Regions from separate parts of the Homo sapiens genome. Here region 2 is linked to region 1. The links are contacts of gene promoters, found by promoter capture Hi-C in human tissues and cell types (Jung and others, 2019). All regions are on one chromosome and are shown on one strand. Each heading gives the region's core, a stretch centred on a gene start or on the middle of the fragment in contact. The rest is flanking DNA. Distances are from core to core; before and after follow the strand shown. Region 1 holds the start of API5 (apoptosis inhibitor 5). Region 2 overlaps ACCSL (1-aminocyclopropane-1-carboxylate synthase homolog (inactive) like).

Region 1 (7,754 bases), core at 3,654-6,153:
CTGTGTCTGTTTCCTCATTTGTAAAGTGGAAATGATAATATTATCTCCTGGCTCATAGAGTTTTTGAGAATTGATTCACATGAAGTGCTCAGAACTCTGCCATCACTTAATATACGCTGGTTATTATTGGGATGACTCCCAATATCATTACCATCAGCATCGTCATCGATTTTGTCATCATTATGATCATTAGGACCAATTGTAGGCCTTTAGCTTAAATGACCAGCTAGAAATACATAAAAATAGGAAACGATTTAAAGCAAACCCCAGGACTCTTAGAGAAGAAAAAGGAGACCAAGAAGTGTTCACAAGCCTGACTAACGTGGCTAAGTAATAGACTGCATCAGGAAGAGTAGTGTTGAATGAAACCGCGTGGCAACTTAGACAAGCATGAGTTTTTTTCCATTTGTTTGGTTGTTATTGGGTTTTTTGGTTGTTTTGTTTTCTTTCATTTTGTTTTGTTTTGAGACAGAGTCTCACCCTGTTGCCCAGACTGGAGTGCAGTGGCACTATCTCAGCTCACTGCAACCTCCACCTCCCAGGTTCAAGCGATTCTCCTGCAGCTGGGACTACAGGCGCCTGCCACCATGCCCGGCTAATTTTTGTATTTTTAGTAGAGACGGAGTTTCACCATGTTGACCAGGCTGGTTTCAAACTCCTGACCTCAAGTGATCCTCCCACCTCGGCCTCCCAAAGTGTTGGGATTACAGGCGTGAGCCACAGTGCATGGCCCTCAAGGGTCAGTTTTAAAGGAGTTTGTATGAATAGCTATATTTTAGAATATAGAAACACTAGTTGAGTCTTTTTCCTCTTCTTAAATTTGTTTTCAAAAATGGATACATAAAATATATTATGTATATATATATATATATTGGCATACTTATTGTAATGAATTAAAACATTAAGCCAAAGCAAAGGTCCCCCGAGCAAACGCAGCTTTATTTCCTGCCCCGGATTGCTTTTTCTACGTTTAAACATATATGTATCACACATCAAATACCTAACTTGAAGGATGTGATCAAAACACAGTTTTATTGGCTGGGCACAGTGGCTCACGCCTGTAATCCTAGCACTTTGGGAGGCCGAGGCAGGCAGACCACTTGAGCTCGGGAGTTTGAGACCAGCCTGGGCAACATGGTGAAACCCTGTCTCTACTAAAAAGACAAAAATTAGCCAGGTGTGGTGGTGTGTGTCTATAGTCTCAGCTACTTGGGAGGCTGAGGTGGGAGGATGGTTTGAACTCAGGAGGTTGAGGCTGAAGTGAGCTGAGATCACACCACTGCATTCCCGCCTGGGCAATAGAGCCAGACCATGTCTAAAAAATATATATATTAAGCTATAATATATATAAAAATATATAAGATAATAAAAGTATATATGTAGCTATATATGTCTATATATATAAATATACATGTGTATATATATAGCTTTCTTACTGTCTTCCACCACGTCTTTAAAATTTATTCAGGTGGTGTCTTAGTCCATTTATGCTACTACAACAAAATACCTTAGAATGGGTAATCTATAAACAACAGAAACCTATTGCCTCAGTTCTGGAAACTGGGAAGTCCAAGATCAAGGCACCAGCAGGATCTTGCTCTCTCAAGCCTCTTGTATAAGGGCACTAATCTCATTGGTGGGAGCAGAGCCTTCAGGACATAATCATCTCTCAAAGGCCCCACCTTTTAATAGTATCTTGCGGGGTAGGTTTCAATACATGAATCTGGGAAGACCCACTCATTCAGACCATAGCAGGCAGGGTCATCTCATTCCAGCCCTAGAGAGAAATTCTGGCAGACCCAGGCCTTTTCTGCTTCAGAAATTAAAACGTCCATTCCAACATGTGAATCCAAACTTAATTTCCAATCAGATCTTCTTCTATTCTCCAGCTGAGGCCGCTCCCTATCTTGCCTTTCTTCTCTGTATCCTCCACTCAGTTTGGTGGGCAGCTTCTGACCCCTCCTGCGCAAATGCATTGAGAGGGGAACATGAGAAGAAAGGAAGAGGAGAACCTCGGAAAGGTCTGGACAGTGCAATACCACAGGCTCTCTCTGGTCTGATAGAGACCAGGTCTGTCCTGTGGGCCACTCCAAGGGGCCTTTAGAGGCCACTCCCAACGGTGACTCCCGTGAGGTGTTGATGTGCTGCTCGCAGTCACCACTCTCTGCGCCATTGACTCTCGCCATGGGGGCTTTCTTACTCTCAGGCAGAAGGACTCAAAATGAATCCAGAATCTCTTTCTCTTTTATATGGCTCATCTCTGCTATAAGGGAATCACTCCCATCCCCTCGCTCCAGCAAAATCTGGGAACACGGTAGATCCCAACATGGCCACCTCCACTCTGCAGTCACGGGTAACCTGAGCTTATCAGGCGTGTCCAGTCCTTTGTGTTTCTCAACCACCTGGGACCATATTTCAGGCTCCTCAAAATGGCCCCACGCTTGAGGGAAGGGGGTAGAAATTGCCCTCAACCTACTCACAAGACATCTTTCTCAAAAACATAAAAATAAAAAAATCACCAATTCTCATTTTATTCTCTAATTCTTTTTCTTTTTCTCCACAAGAGTCCAAATTGCAATTTTTTTTTTTTTTTTTTTTTTGAGACAGAGTCTTGCTCTGTCACCCAGACTGGAGTGCAGTGGCACAATCTCGGCTCACTACAAGCTCCACCTCCCGGGTTCACGCCATTCTCCTGCCTCAGCCTCCCAAGTAGCTGGGACTACAGGCGCCCACCACCACACCCAGCTAATTTTTTGTATTTTTAGTAGAGACAGGGTTTCACCGTGTTAGCCAGGATGGTCTTGATCTCCTGACCTCGTGATCCGCCCGCCTCAGCCTCCCAAAGTGCTGGGATTACAGGCGTGAGCCACCGCGCCTGGCCTGCAATTTTTTTTAACATTGAATTTTACACTTGATTTCTTATTTTCAGACAGGGGTCGTGCTGTGTTGCCCAGGCTGGACTTGAACTCCTGGGCCCAAGTGGTTCTCCCCGCTTAGCTTCCCAAATAGCTGGGACTGTTGGCTATCACGCTCAGCTCTAATCCTTTTTAGGATGTGAGATTTATCCTCAATCTAACTGAGAAGTACAAGAGCCGGGGAGTTCTTTTGTAATCATTTCCCGTGTATGTTCTGTACAAGTGGATGTGGCTTTGAAATTTACAGTCTATTATAGTTTGATATTTCAATCCTGAAATGTTAACATCCTTTAACATCCTTTTACACATACACACATAACTTTGTTTTGTATGCTTTGTATGTTTTACATAATGGGATCATCTTATACCTGCCTTTTAACTTTTCTTTTTCTTTTTCTTTTTCTTTTTCTTTTAATTTTTTTGAGATAGAGTTTTGCTCTGTGGCCCAGGCTGGATTGCAGTGGCATGATCTGGGCTCACTGCAACCTCTGCCTCCTATGTGCATATAATTCTTCTGCCTCAGCCTCTCATGCAGCTGGGACTACAGGTGCATGCCACCACGCCTGGCTAATTTTTGTATTTTTAGTAGAGACAGGGTTTCACCATGTTGACCAGGCTGATCTTGAACTCCTGACCTCAAGTGATCCACCCAACTCAGCCTTCCAAAGTGCTGAGATTACAGGCGTTAGCCACCGCACACGGCTATATATATATATAATATTATTATATAAATATAATTATCTTAATATATAAATATATATTATTATCTTAATATATATAATATATATTATTATCTTAATATATATAATATATTATTATCTTAATATATATTATTATCTTAATATATAATTATATAATAATATACAATATATAATATATATTATATATATAATTGTATATATAATATAATATATAATATATATTATAATATTAATATCATAATATTATATATGATATATAAATATAATAATATATTAATATATATTAAGATAATAATATTAATATATTAATTATATAATTAATATATTATATATAATATAAGATAATTATAATATATAATTGATAATATTGATATATTAATTAATATTATATCTCAATATATAGATATATTATAATTATATTATATAATTAATGTATTAATTAATATTATTATCTTAATATATATTAATATAATATTATTATATTTATATTATATATTATATATTTATATATTAATATAATATTATTATATTTATATTATATATTATATATTTATATATTAATATATAATGTTATATATTATATAATATATAATATTATATATTAATATATAATATTATATATTATATAATATATAAAATTATTATATATTAATATATAATGTTATATATTATATAATATATAAAATATTATATATTATATCATATTATATATATAATTTCATTTAAACTTGTATCTTAGAAATTCTTATCAGTAAGCGTACGTGATTTCATTTATTTATTATTCTTTTGGATACTGGACATAATCAGGTGGCCCCAATTCTTTACACTGGCAGCAAAGATAAGCAAATTCTTCCAGCAGGCCAAATTTGACCCCGCACTTGATGAGCGTGGTGGACACAGAGGGTTTTTTAATAGCATAGGAATGTTTTTTGCTTCCCACCGGACCCACTAGCCTCTAGTGCCACCGATTAATATTACCTTCCTTGAATCAGGAGGAAACCATTTGTGACTTCTCATATGTAAGATCTTCTAAGGGCAGAAACGCAATTGTCTTTGTATTCACTTCCCCGCCCACCCACACCCCTTCCATGGAGAGCCTGCAGCCAAGCTCAAGCTTTCAAAAAGGCGTGAGCTAATTCAATCATCCTTGCCGCTTTTTTGCTCCTCCAGGCTGTAGAGGGCGACAAAAACCGCGGAGGCGCATTGGGGTGGGGGGTGTCTACTGAAGGCCGCTCCCGACGTGCGCGTCTTTACGTAGACGTCGGGGGCGCAGCCGCGCTGTGCGCGGTGACTGGCGGCTGCACTGGCGGCAGCTGGAGGTGTAATAGTGCGGGTAGTGGGTTTGGAGAAGTTCCGAGGCGGCGGTGGCGCCGGTCAGGACAAGGATAGCGGAACCGGGCCCTGGGCTTGTCGCTCACCATGCCGACAGTAGAGGAGCTTTACCGCAATTATGGCATCCTGGCCGATGCCACGGAGCAAGTGGGCCAGGTGAGTTGAGTCCCCGGGCGGCCTGCAGGGCCTGGCGCTCCGCGGCCTTTCGAAAGCGCTTCCCGCCGCACTCCCCGGGCCGAGCGGGGGCTGCGGCTTCATCCTCCCGGGGCCTCCTAGCCTCCTCAGGCCGTCTCGTCGGGGTGGGCCTCTCTGGGAGTGTAGACTCTGGTTTCACCAGGGAGACCGCGGTCCCCAGGGTTCCAGGCTTCCTTGCCTCCCTTGCCCAGCCTTTTCTCACCGTGGCGTAACCTAACTCAGCCCGTTCAGGCTCACGTTAATTCTTCTCACGGAGCTTTTCTCTACAGGATTCTCTTAAGCCTTTCTCCTTTTCGGTGGAGCTCAGTGCTTCCAAGATTAGATCGGGAGTTTTCTTCATGAGGTCAAGATGTGTTTTTTTTGGGGGGGAGGCAAAATTCTGCTACTAATTGAAGAAGAGTGTTTAGGAGACAGAAGTTTGTGAGAAACAGAAGAGGGACTCTTTGGTCCAGACTTTGATGAGAGCTCACGGTTTCATTTATTCAGTGCATTTTTTTGAGTGCCGAGCGCTGGAGATACAGATGGAAAGGTCCGCGCTCTCCCAGAATGTACAGTTAGGAGGGAGTGTAGTAAGAAAGATAGGCATTGTGAGGCCCGGCTTGGTGGCTCACGCCTGTAATCCGAGCACTTTGGGAGGCCGAGGCGGGCGGATCACGAGGTCAGGAGTTCGAGACCAGCCTGACCCACATGGTGAAACCCTGTCTCTACTAAAAATACAAAAATTAGCCGGGCGTGGTGACACGCGCTTGTAATCCTAGCTACTCAGGAGGCTGAGGTGGGAGGATTGCTTGAACCCGGGAGGCAGAGGTTGCGGTGAGCCGAGATCGCTTCACTGCACTCCAGCCTGGGAGACAAAGCAAGACCCCGTCTCAAAAAAAAAAAAAAAGGTTTTTTTTAAAAATTTATTCTTTTTAATGAAACATGTTTGAAGAAAATAAAACAGGGCTGGGCGAAGGAGAGTGTGAGTGCGCAGCTCTGAATGGAGTTGTCTGGAAGAGCTCTCTTAACGATGCTTGCCCCCGATACACAGTTTCTCAGCAGTGTTGAATTATCCATACAAGTCATTTGTTCCCTGTATGAGTTTTCAAGTACTGGAGTACATTGAACTTGATAAGTGGTTGGGTATGTGTGTTCTTGGGAAAAGAACCAGGCTCTCCTGGAGGTAACCTTGATCATTGTTTTAGAAATCCCACACCATAGCTTTTCAGCGCTTAGAACTTTGTGATTTTTCTGCTTACGCATCCCTTCTTGGAGAAAGTGGAAGATTCTAGTCTATTAACAGTCGTGGGAGTACCTTTCCCGTCCCCTTTTCTTAACATAATTCAAATAGGACTTTTCTGAGCTGAACGAAAAAAAAAAAATTTCATGTTGGAGATTTATTGTAGCTTAATCTAGAATTAAGAATATACCAGTTTGAAATAGCAAATGATTTTTTTTCCTTCATTCCCTGTCAGTAGGGAATTTCACTTTTATCAGTAAGAAATGTATACGGATGTTCTGCTGTACATGTGGATAGAGTGTGTAGGTCGGTTGTGAAGGAGGAATATTCTGTTCATTAAGAAGGTAAAAACTGCCAGGCACGGTGGCTCACGCCTGTAATCCCAATTCTTTAAGGGGCGTGGATGGGCAGATCAGTTGAGATCAGGAGTTCGAGACCAGCCTGGCCAACATGGTGAACCCCCATCTCTACTAAAAATACAAAAATTAGCCAGGCGTGGTGGCATGCGCCTGAAGTCCCAGCTATTTGGGAGGCTGAGGCAGGACAATTGCTTGAACCCGGAGGGTGGAGGTTCCTGTGAGCTGATATCGGGCCACTGCACTCCAGCCTGGGCAACAGAGCAAGACTCCATCTCAAACAAAAAATTAAAAAAAAAAAAAGATACAAACTATGTGTGGTCAATCAGTTTGAATTTGTTGTTCCTAAAAAGAACTAGTAGTGAAGATATTCTCAATCGTATAATTTATCTGTGACTTAGTTGGGTAACTTTGTAGCAAATTGTTCTACCTACGTTAGACTTTGTTGCATATCAGTAGGGGGATAGGGTGAAAGCTACAACAGTGGTTGTGTCAGGAATCCTTCTAAGAAACCTTTGAAACCGTATACATAATGCTGTCCATCCCCTACTCTAATTTTGAGAGTTGCTTGCATTTCCTTCTCATGTCATCTTTATAAAAACCAGATTGAATTGAGAGTTCTCCCCAAGGGGTCAAAATGTCTTTCACAGCAAAAATCTACTCTTTATTTAGTAAGGGTACTTTAGAGACAAGTTTGTGAAAAATGAAAAAGGATACCTTTGTCTACACTTTAATGAGGACTCCATGCTTTATTCCGTACATTTCACCTACCATGTACCACACACCCGGCTGGACACTGAAATTTAACACAATTCTCTGTAGGTTATGGGTGATCAATGCGTTCTGTATTGACAACTGTCAAGCAACTATTTAAACAGTATCTCTGCATAATGAGATGTAGTGGTTAGCTCAGGCAGCTCAAATATTGTGAATTGTAGGAAAACCGAAGATAATGCCTACTAATTCTGCTCTGTTGGGTTATACTTCTCCCCTTTTAGATAAAATGCCTAAAATCACTTACTAAAAAAGACAGTAG
Region 2 (7,754 bases), core at 2,939-5,438, 750 kb after region 1:
AGATCCCAGCCCCTTGAACGCTAGTCCTCAATCTTGGATGGACGTGGGAGTTTCCCAGGGAGCTTAAATACTGACGTGTGTTCCATCTTCAAAGATCCTGATATAGCCTGAGCATCAGGGCTTCTAACAGCTCCCCAAGTGGTTCTGTTCTATGAATGCAGAGGGCAACTGGCCAAGAGCATCCCCAGGCACACATATATTCCTCCGACTCCATTGTATGAGGCTCAAATTCGGGTGGTAGGAGCTGCGAGTCCCTGCTGCTTGCCCAGTTAACAACAACAGCATCAACCCCTATTAGGGGATTGACTCCTTGCCTCAGGGCTGTGAACTCAAAGAGAACTTTCCTACTAGACCTTTGAGAAGCCCAGTGTCTCTACCAGAGCCTTAGATAAGAGGTGGGTGTATCAGGTGTGGACACCATCAGCTCAAACATACTAGAGTTAGTCTTAGAAATAGCTTGCAGGGTGCAGTGGCTAACACCTAAAATCCCAGCACTTTGGGAGGCAGAGGCAGGTGGATCACTTGAGGCCAGGAGTTTGAGACCAGCCTGGCCAACATGGTGAAACCCCATCTCTACTAAAAATACAAAAATAAGCTGGGTGTGGTGGCGTACGCCTGTAGTGCCAGTTACTTGGAAGGCTGAGACATGAGAATCACTTGAGCCAAGGAGGTGGAGATTGCAGTGTGCCGAGATTGTGCCACTGCACTCCAGCCTGGGTGACAGAGGGAAACTCTGGTTTTTTTGTTTTTTTTAAAAACAGACAAACAAAACAAAAACAAACAAACAAACTTGCATGAAGCCCAGGAAGGGAGCATTTGGGAAGGAACTCTCGGTAGATTTCTGTAGTAATATCTGTGACAGTGTTTTTCCTCTACCCATCCAGAATGGATTGACAAAGTATACCTACCCACCAATTGCTACCGGCTCCGGGAAGCTCACAAGTACATCACTGCTGAGCTGAAGGCATTGGAGATCCCTTTTCACAACCGCAGCTCTGGCCTCTATGTCTGGATCAACTTGAAAAAGGTGTGTTCTGGGAATGAGGACAGGTGTTCTTGGGCAGACCTGCCAGCTGGGTCTTGGGCTCAGTTCTGTTCCTCTGCCCTCCCTAGTACCTGGATCCCTGTACATTTGAAGAAGAACGGCTCCTCTATTGCCGCTTCCTGGACAACAAGCTATTGTTATCCCGTGGCAAAACCTACATGTGTAAGGAGCCAGGCTGGTTCTGCCTCATCTTTGCAGATGAGCTCCCCCGGCTAAAATTGGGTGAGTGGAGCTGACCTCCCAATCCTTTAAAGACGCCCCATCAATTTAATATGTCAATCTTCTCCCCCACCCCCCTTAAACATCCTATAGATCTAGCCCTTTATTCCCTGTTTCCATGTCTATCTTTAGTTAGGTGCTCTTGCAAACAAGAACTGATATGTACCTCAAGCACCTATCCATTCATTACCCATTTGGGGTATCTGTTCTGTGACTGCCATTGAGTGAGGCATTGGGACCACAAGCTAAAAAGTAGTACTCTGAGGCCAGGTGCGGTGTCTTATGCCTGTAATCCCAGCACTTTGGGAGGCCGAGGTGGGTGGATCATGAGGTCAGGAGTTCCAGACCAGCCTGGCCAGCATGGTAAAACCCTGTCTCTACTAAAAATACAAAAAATTAGCCACGCATGGTGGCGCACGCCTGTAATCCCAGCTACTCGGGGGGCTGAGGCAGGAGAATTGCTTGAACCTGGGAGGTGGAGGTTGCAGTGAGCTGAGATTGCGCCACTGCACTCCAGCCTGGGCGACAGAGTGAGACTGTTTCAAGAAAACAAAAACAAACAAACAAAACCCGAAAAAAGTAGTACTCTGCCCTTGTGGGACTGGCAGCCTAGTAAGTGAGATGGATAGGCAGATGACCATGGAAGTCCCTGTATGCCATACTAGAGAGTTTAGATTCTCCTCTGAGGTTATAGAGAATAGGACATTCATGTGAACATTTATTTATTGCATTCCACTACATGCCAGATGCTGTTCTACCTGCTGGGAATATAGCAGTGAATTGTTCATTCTCATGAAGGTTTTTGTTACAGAATTCTTTTGAGCTAGCATAGAAGATAGGCTGAGTGAAGAGACACTAGAGGCAAATAGAAATCCTGATTAGGCCAAGGCCATAAGCCCGAGAGTACAGGCTTTGATACAAGACATTGAGATGTCTCGCAGGCTGACATAACAATGATATTCAAAAAGAAATCAGGGATGCAACATGTAGACTTGGAAATCCATCCCAAAGGTGGGAGGGCTGAAGTTCAGGATCCCTGAATGAGAGGCTTTTATGGTTGACCATGACCTGGGTATGTCTGGGACCCACCAGCAAACCTACTAAATCACTATTTCTCTCTGTCCCCATTTGAACCCTCTAGCTATGCGTCGGTTCTGTGATGTGCTGCAGGAGCAGAAGGAGGCTTTGATAGTGAAGCAGTTGGAGGATGCAATGAGGGAGTAGGCCGTCTGCCTCCCAACCAGCAGTTCCAGCCCATCACTTGCTCAGGGACCCCCTAATGTCAGCCTCTGGCCCAGAAGGCCAGGGTGTCTTTTTGTCAGTGTTGCGATGGAGAAAATGGTGGGCTCCTCCAGGAAGATCTCATCTTACCCGGTTGTCACCCTCCTTAAGCTGAGTGCCTGCTGTCTTTGGAAGCTTTCCATCTTTTTAGTCTTTGCTAGCCATTATATATGCAAAATGTTTTTATCGGGGTTGGGGTGGAAAGGCCTAGAGACACCTAGAGAAATAAAGGGAGTTCTCTGGGCCCCTATTTAGATGGTTTATTTTTATATTCAGTACCTAATAAATTCTATACTTTTAAATTCTAGGCCCATCTTATTTTCTTGCTTATATTCTTCATAATCATCTTTGGAAGCCAGATGATTTTCTGTCCTCCTTAATTTTTAAATTCTAAGGCAGGTTCTATGTAAAGAATACTGTCTAGAGCAGGCCAGAAAAAGAAAGAAGTCATCCTTAACTGATGGGCCATTTTCCAGGTGTTGGATGCAATGTTCTATAAGATTCTTATGAAATCACATCCACTTCCACATGACCTGCTAAGAGGCAGGTGGGAGTATAATTGCAGGTATTCCTGCTTCCAAATACTAGAGTTTGTTCCACTTTTACCTTCCCAAAAGGCTTTTAAAGTCTCTTGCTGGGTACGGTGGCTCATGCCTGTAATCCCAGCACTTTGGGAGGCTGAGGCCAGAGAATGGCTTGAGGCCAGGTGTTTGAGACCAGCCTGAGCAACCGAGACCCTGTCTCTACAAAAAATAAAATTAGCTGGGTGTGGTGATGTGTGCCTCTAGTCCCAGCTATTCAGGAGGCTGAGGTGGGAGGCTCGCTTAAATCTAGGAGACCAAGCCTGCAGTGAACCATATCGTGCCACTGCATTCCAGCCTGGTTATAGAGTAAGACCCTGTCTCTACAAAAAAGAAAAAAAAATCTGACAAGCTTGGTGTCTTAGTCCCTTCATAATATGAAAATATCACAAAGTGGATGGCTTAGAAACAAATCTTTCTCACAGTTCTGGAGGCTGGAAAGGCCGAGTTCAAGGCCCTGGGAGATTTGGCATCTGGTGAGGGTCCCATCTTCCCAGTGTCATCTCATGTGGCAGAAGAGGTGAGAGGTCTTCCTCTGCCTTCATGACCCAATCACTTTTCAAAGGGCTCACCTTCTAATACCATCACCTTGGGGGTTAGGATTTCAAATATGAATGTTGGGGGGACACATTCAGTTCGTAGCATCTGGGGTTGTCCATTTCCATTTCTAATGTTTTCAGCTGTTCAAATTAAGCCACCCATCAGTTTCTCTGCAAAGCCCTTGCATGTCAGAGCACTGATACTGTGAAGTGGGCAGAGAAGGGACTACTACGATTTTATGGATGAAGAAAGAGCTCACAGTACCAACTGGTGGCTTTAGTCGCTTGGGTTTGTGGCCGTACTTGCTCCGAATCCAAATTTGTTTATTCTTGTCAGTTTTCTTGTGTGTGTGTGTGTATGTGTGTGTTTTTGTTGTTGTTGTTGTTGTTGTTGTGAGACTGAGTCTCACTCTGTCGCCCAGGTTGGAGTGCAGTGTCACAATCTCGGCTCACTGCAACCTCTGCTGCTGGTTCAGCGATTCTCCTGCCTCTGCCTCCCAAGCAGCTGGGACTACAGGCACGTGCCACCTCGCCCAGCTAATTTTTATATCTTTAGTAGAGACAGGGTTTTACCATGTTGGCCAGGCTTGTCTCAAACGCCTGACCTCAAGTGATCCGCCTGCCTCGGCCTCCCAAAGTGCTGGGATTACAAGCTGAGCCACCGCTCCTGACCGATATAGCTCTTTTTAAAAAACCTCTAGTATAACGTTGAATAAAAGTGGTTGAGAGGACAGCCTGCCTTGTTCTCAGTCTTAGTAGCATTGAGTGCAATCTTCTGCTCTTGAGTATAACGTTACTGTATTTTTCATTCTGTCCCTTATCTAATAAAGAGTCCTTCTATTACTAGTTTGCTGGGAGTTTTACCATGTATGAGGGTTCAATGTTGTTAGATGTTTTTCATCTGCATTTATAGAGATATGATTTTTCTCTTGATTATCAATGTAGTAAGTTACATTGATTTCTTAATGTTAAAGCAACTTCACATTGCTGCAATAAACCCCATTTGGTCATGATGCATTGTCCTTTTATATACCATTGAGTTTGGTTTGCTATTTTAAGAAGTTTACATTCAAGAAGGACATCATTCTATAATTTTTTTTTTTGTAATGCATTGTTAGTTTCAGTATCATGATTAATACTGGTTTCATAGATGTTTGGGAAACTGTTCCTTCCTGAATTTTCTAGAAGTTTGTGTCCAAAAACTTCTTCAACCTTTAAATATTTGGTTGAATTCAGCTGTAAAACCATAAGGGCCTGGAGGTTTTTTTTTTCTTCTTTTTTTTTTTTTGTGGGACGGCTTTTACTTATAAATTCAATTTCTGTGACAGTTCGAGTTTTCTATTTCTTGTATCAGATTTGGTTATTTGTGCCTTTCAATAAAGTTTGTCTATTTCATCTAAGTTTAATTATTGACTTAAAATTGGTTATAAATATTCTGTTATCCTTTTAATACATTTAGGATCTTTAGTTGTATCTCCTTTTCCTTTCCTGATACTGAAATTGATACATGCAGGAGGGGGATTACGGGGAGGGTCTCCGGAGAATCTCCAACCCATCTGTGCACTGGGAGAACAAGATGGAGCCAAGGGAAGCTGTGGCCATGCTCAGCGGGGAGGAGCCTGGCCTCTTCAATTTCTGTGTGGTGGCCTGGGATTCAATGTGAGTTTGGAGGCCTGTTAGCAGGACCCCCTCTTGCTCTGCTGACAGTATTTTTCTTTTTTCCTTTTTGCCCAGTAAATTCCGTTCCCCTCACCCTTCAATGTGTCCATGTTCCTAATCCTTCCTGGTGGTGTGACAAGAACCCGGTTTTAGCTGAACTAAGGAGCAAAATTCTGCAACAAAATGAGTTTTTTTGATCAGTCAATCTAACTGTTTATCAACTGTATTGAACTTTTCAAAGAACCAACTTTCAGTTTCATTGATTTTTCTCGTTTCGCCTTCATTTCTGCTCTTATCTTTATTTCTTTCTATTTACTTTGGGTTTAATTTGCTCTTTTTTCTAGCTTATTAATGTGGAAGCTTAGATCATTTGTTTTAAGTTGGTTTCAAATATATGCATTACAAGCTATTCATTTCTCACTTAGCATTATTTTAGCTACATTCCATAAACTTTGATCTGCTGGTTTTTAATCATTCAAAATATTTTCTAATTTCCCTTGTGATTTCTTTTTTTAAATCAATGGTTTGCTTAGCATATGTAACTTAGTTTCCAAATATTTGGGGACTGTTCAGCTTTCTTTGTTAATGATTTCTACTTTAATTTCATTGTGACTAGAGAATGTACTCTATGGTTTCAATCCTTTGAAACTTATTAAGACAGTTTATGGCCAGATTTGTTTACAACATGTGGTCTATCTTAATGTTTCATTTGCACTTGAAAAGAAGTATATTCTGTGGTATTGGGGATGGTGTTCTATAAATGTCAATTAGATTAAATTTTTGTATAATGTCCAAAAGTTCTGATCCTTAGTGTCTTTTGATCCATTTGTTCTATCACCGAGAGAGTGGTATAAAATTTTCCAATTATTATGAACTTGTCTTTTCTCTTTTTCGTTCTGTCAGTTTCTGCTTCATGTATTTTGAAGCTTTGTTATTACGAGCATAAACTTTTAAGATTGTCACCCTGATAAATTAATCATTTTATTCTAAAATGCCCCATTTTATTTTTGTTAATTATTTTTGTCTTGAAGCCTACTATCAGATACCAATATGAACACATCAGCTTTTTTCATGATTATTATTTGCTTGTTTTTTTTCACATTTTTACCTTTGACCATTTGTTTTTGTATTTAAAGTGTGTCTCCTGCACACACCATATGCTTGATTCTTGCTGTTTTATCCAGTCTGATGATCTTTTAATTGATCTTTAGTCAATTCACATTTAATGTAACGTGTGTGTATGTCTTCCACTTAGGACAAGTGCCTGTGTTTGTTGTTTCGTGGGGTTAAATCCCCCTGCTGCATGTTTCCATGGTACCCAGTAAATAGTCTTTTTAAAATAGTCCCCACATTGTAAGTCGGCCTTCCCAATCAATCATGCAGGCTTTGGTTTGTCTTGCTCATCACCGTATCCTCGCATTTTACAGAGACCTGGCACATAACAGGCATTCACTGAGATGTGAATTACATAGAATTAAGATTTAAATAGAGGAAAATAATCGCTTCCTTATCTTACAGAAGAAAACAGTAAGGGCCAAAAAAGTCATGAGAGTTGCTCAAGGTCACAGTGTTAGCTAGTGCAAGGCAAAAGTGAAGACAAGAAGTGGAATGGCCAGAAGACAGCCATGTCTTCCCAGCCATACCTGTATTGAGAGATTCTGCTTATTTCCTTTCATGGGGAAAGAAGACTTTCCCATTCAAGGCACCTCAGAGACTGCAGCTCTACCTGGGACCTGGGTGCCCACTGTACCCATTGCCAGAATATGTAGAGCTTAGGGCAGAGTTTGAAAAATACTTTTGAAATTATATGTGTGTGTGTGTGTGTGTGTGTGTGTGTGTGTGTGTATGTAATTTTTTTTTTTTTTTTTTTTTTTTTTTAGATAGAGTCTCGCAAACACCCAGGTGGGAGTGCAGTGGCACGATCAAATTCACTGCAGCCTCTACCTTCTGGGCTCAAGTGATCCTCCCACCTCAGCCTCCCAAGTAGCTGAAACCACAGGCACATGTCATCAAGTCTGGCTAATTTACAAAAACATTTTGGCTGAGTGCAGTGGCTCACGCCTGCCATCCCAGCACTTGGGAGGCCGAGGCGGGCAGATCACGAGGTCAGGAGTTCAAGACCAGTCGGGACAATATGGTGAAACTCCATCTCTACTAAAAATACAAAAATTAGCCAGGCGTGGTGGTGCGTGCCTGTAGTCCCAGCTACTGGGGAGGCTGAGACAAAAGAATTGCTTGAACCCGGGAGGCGGAGGTTGCAGTGAGCAGAGATTGTGCCACTGCACTCCAGCCTGGATGACAGAGCGAGACTCCGTCTCAAAAAAACAAAAAAACATAAAAACCTTTTTTTGGTAGAGACACGGTCTCTCTATGTTGCCCAGGCTGGTTTCAAACTCCTGGGTTCAAGGGATGCTCCCACCTTGTCCTCTC

Evidence for each region. Contacts are between HindIII fragments. The study calls those that stand out against the background at their distance.
Region 2: a fragment that was not itself captured here is called in contact with the fragment with the promoter of API5 in region 1 in 1 of the 25 tissues and cell types used here (spleen).

What each region holds. Positions count from the first base shown.
Region 1 is chr11:43,307,093-43,314,846 of GRCh38, forward strand. API5 (apoptosis inhibitor 5) reads left to right here and starts at 4,904. Exons shown (of 14, transcript NM_001142930.2): 1 at 4,904-5,104. The coding sequence starts at 5,036. RefSeq lists an enhancer at 4,657-5,432. The HindIII fragment of the contact is 16,603 bases long and covers 702-7,754 here.
Region 2 is chr11:44,057,433-44,065,186 of GRCh38, forward strand. It overlaps ACCSL (1-aminocyclopropane-1-carboxylate synthase homolog (inactive) like), which reads left to right. Exons shown (of 14, transcript NM_001031854.2): 12 at 885-1,027; 13 at 1,114-1,267; 14 at 2,406-2,545. The coding sequence ends at 2,488. Among named protein-coding and RNA genes, the nearest start is that of ACCS, 5.0 kb to the right of the region's middle. The HindIII fragment of the contact is 5,915 bases long and covers 1,232-7,146 here.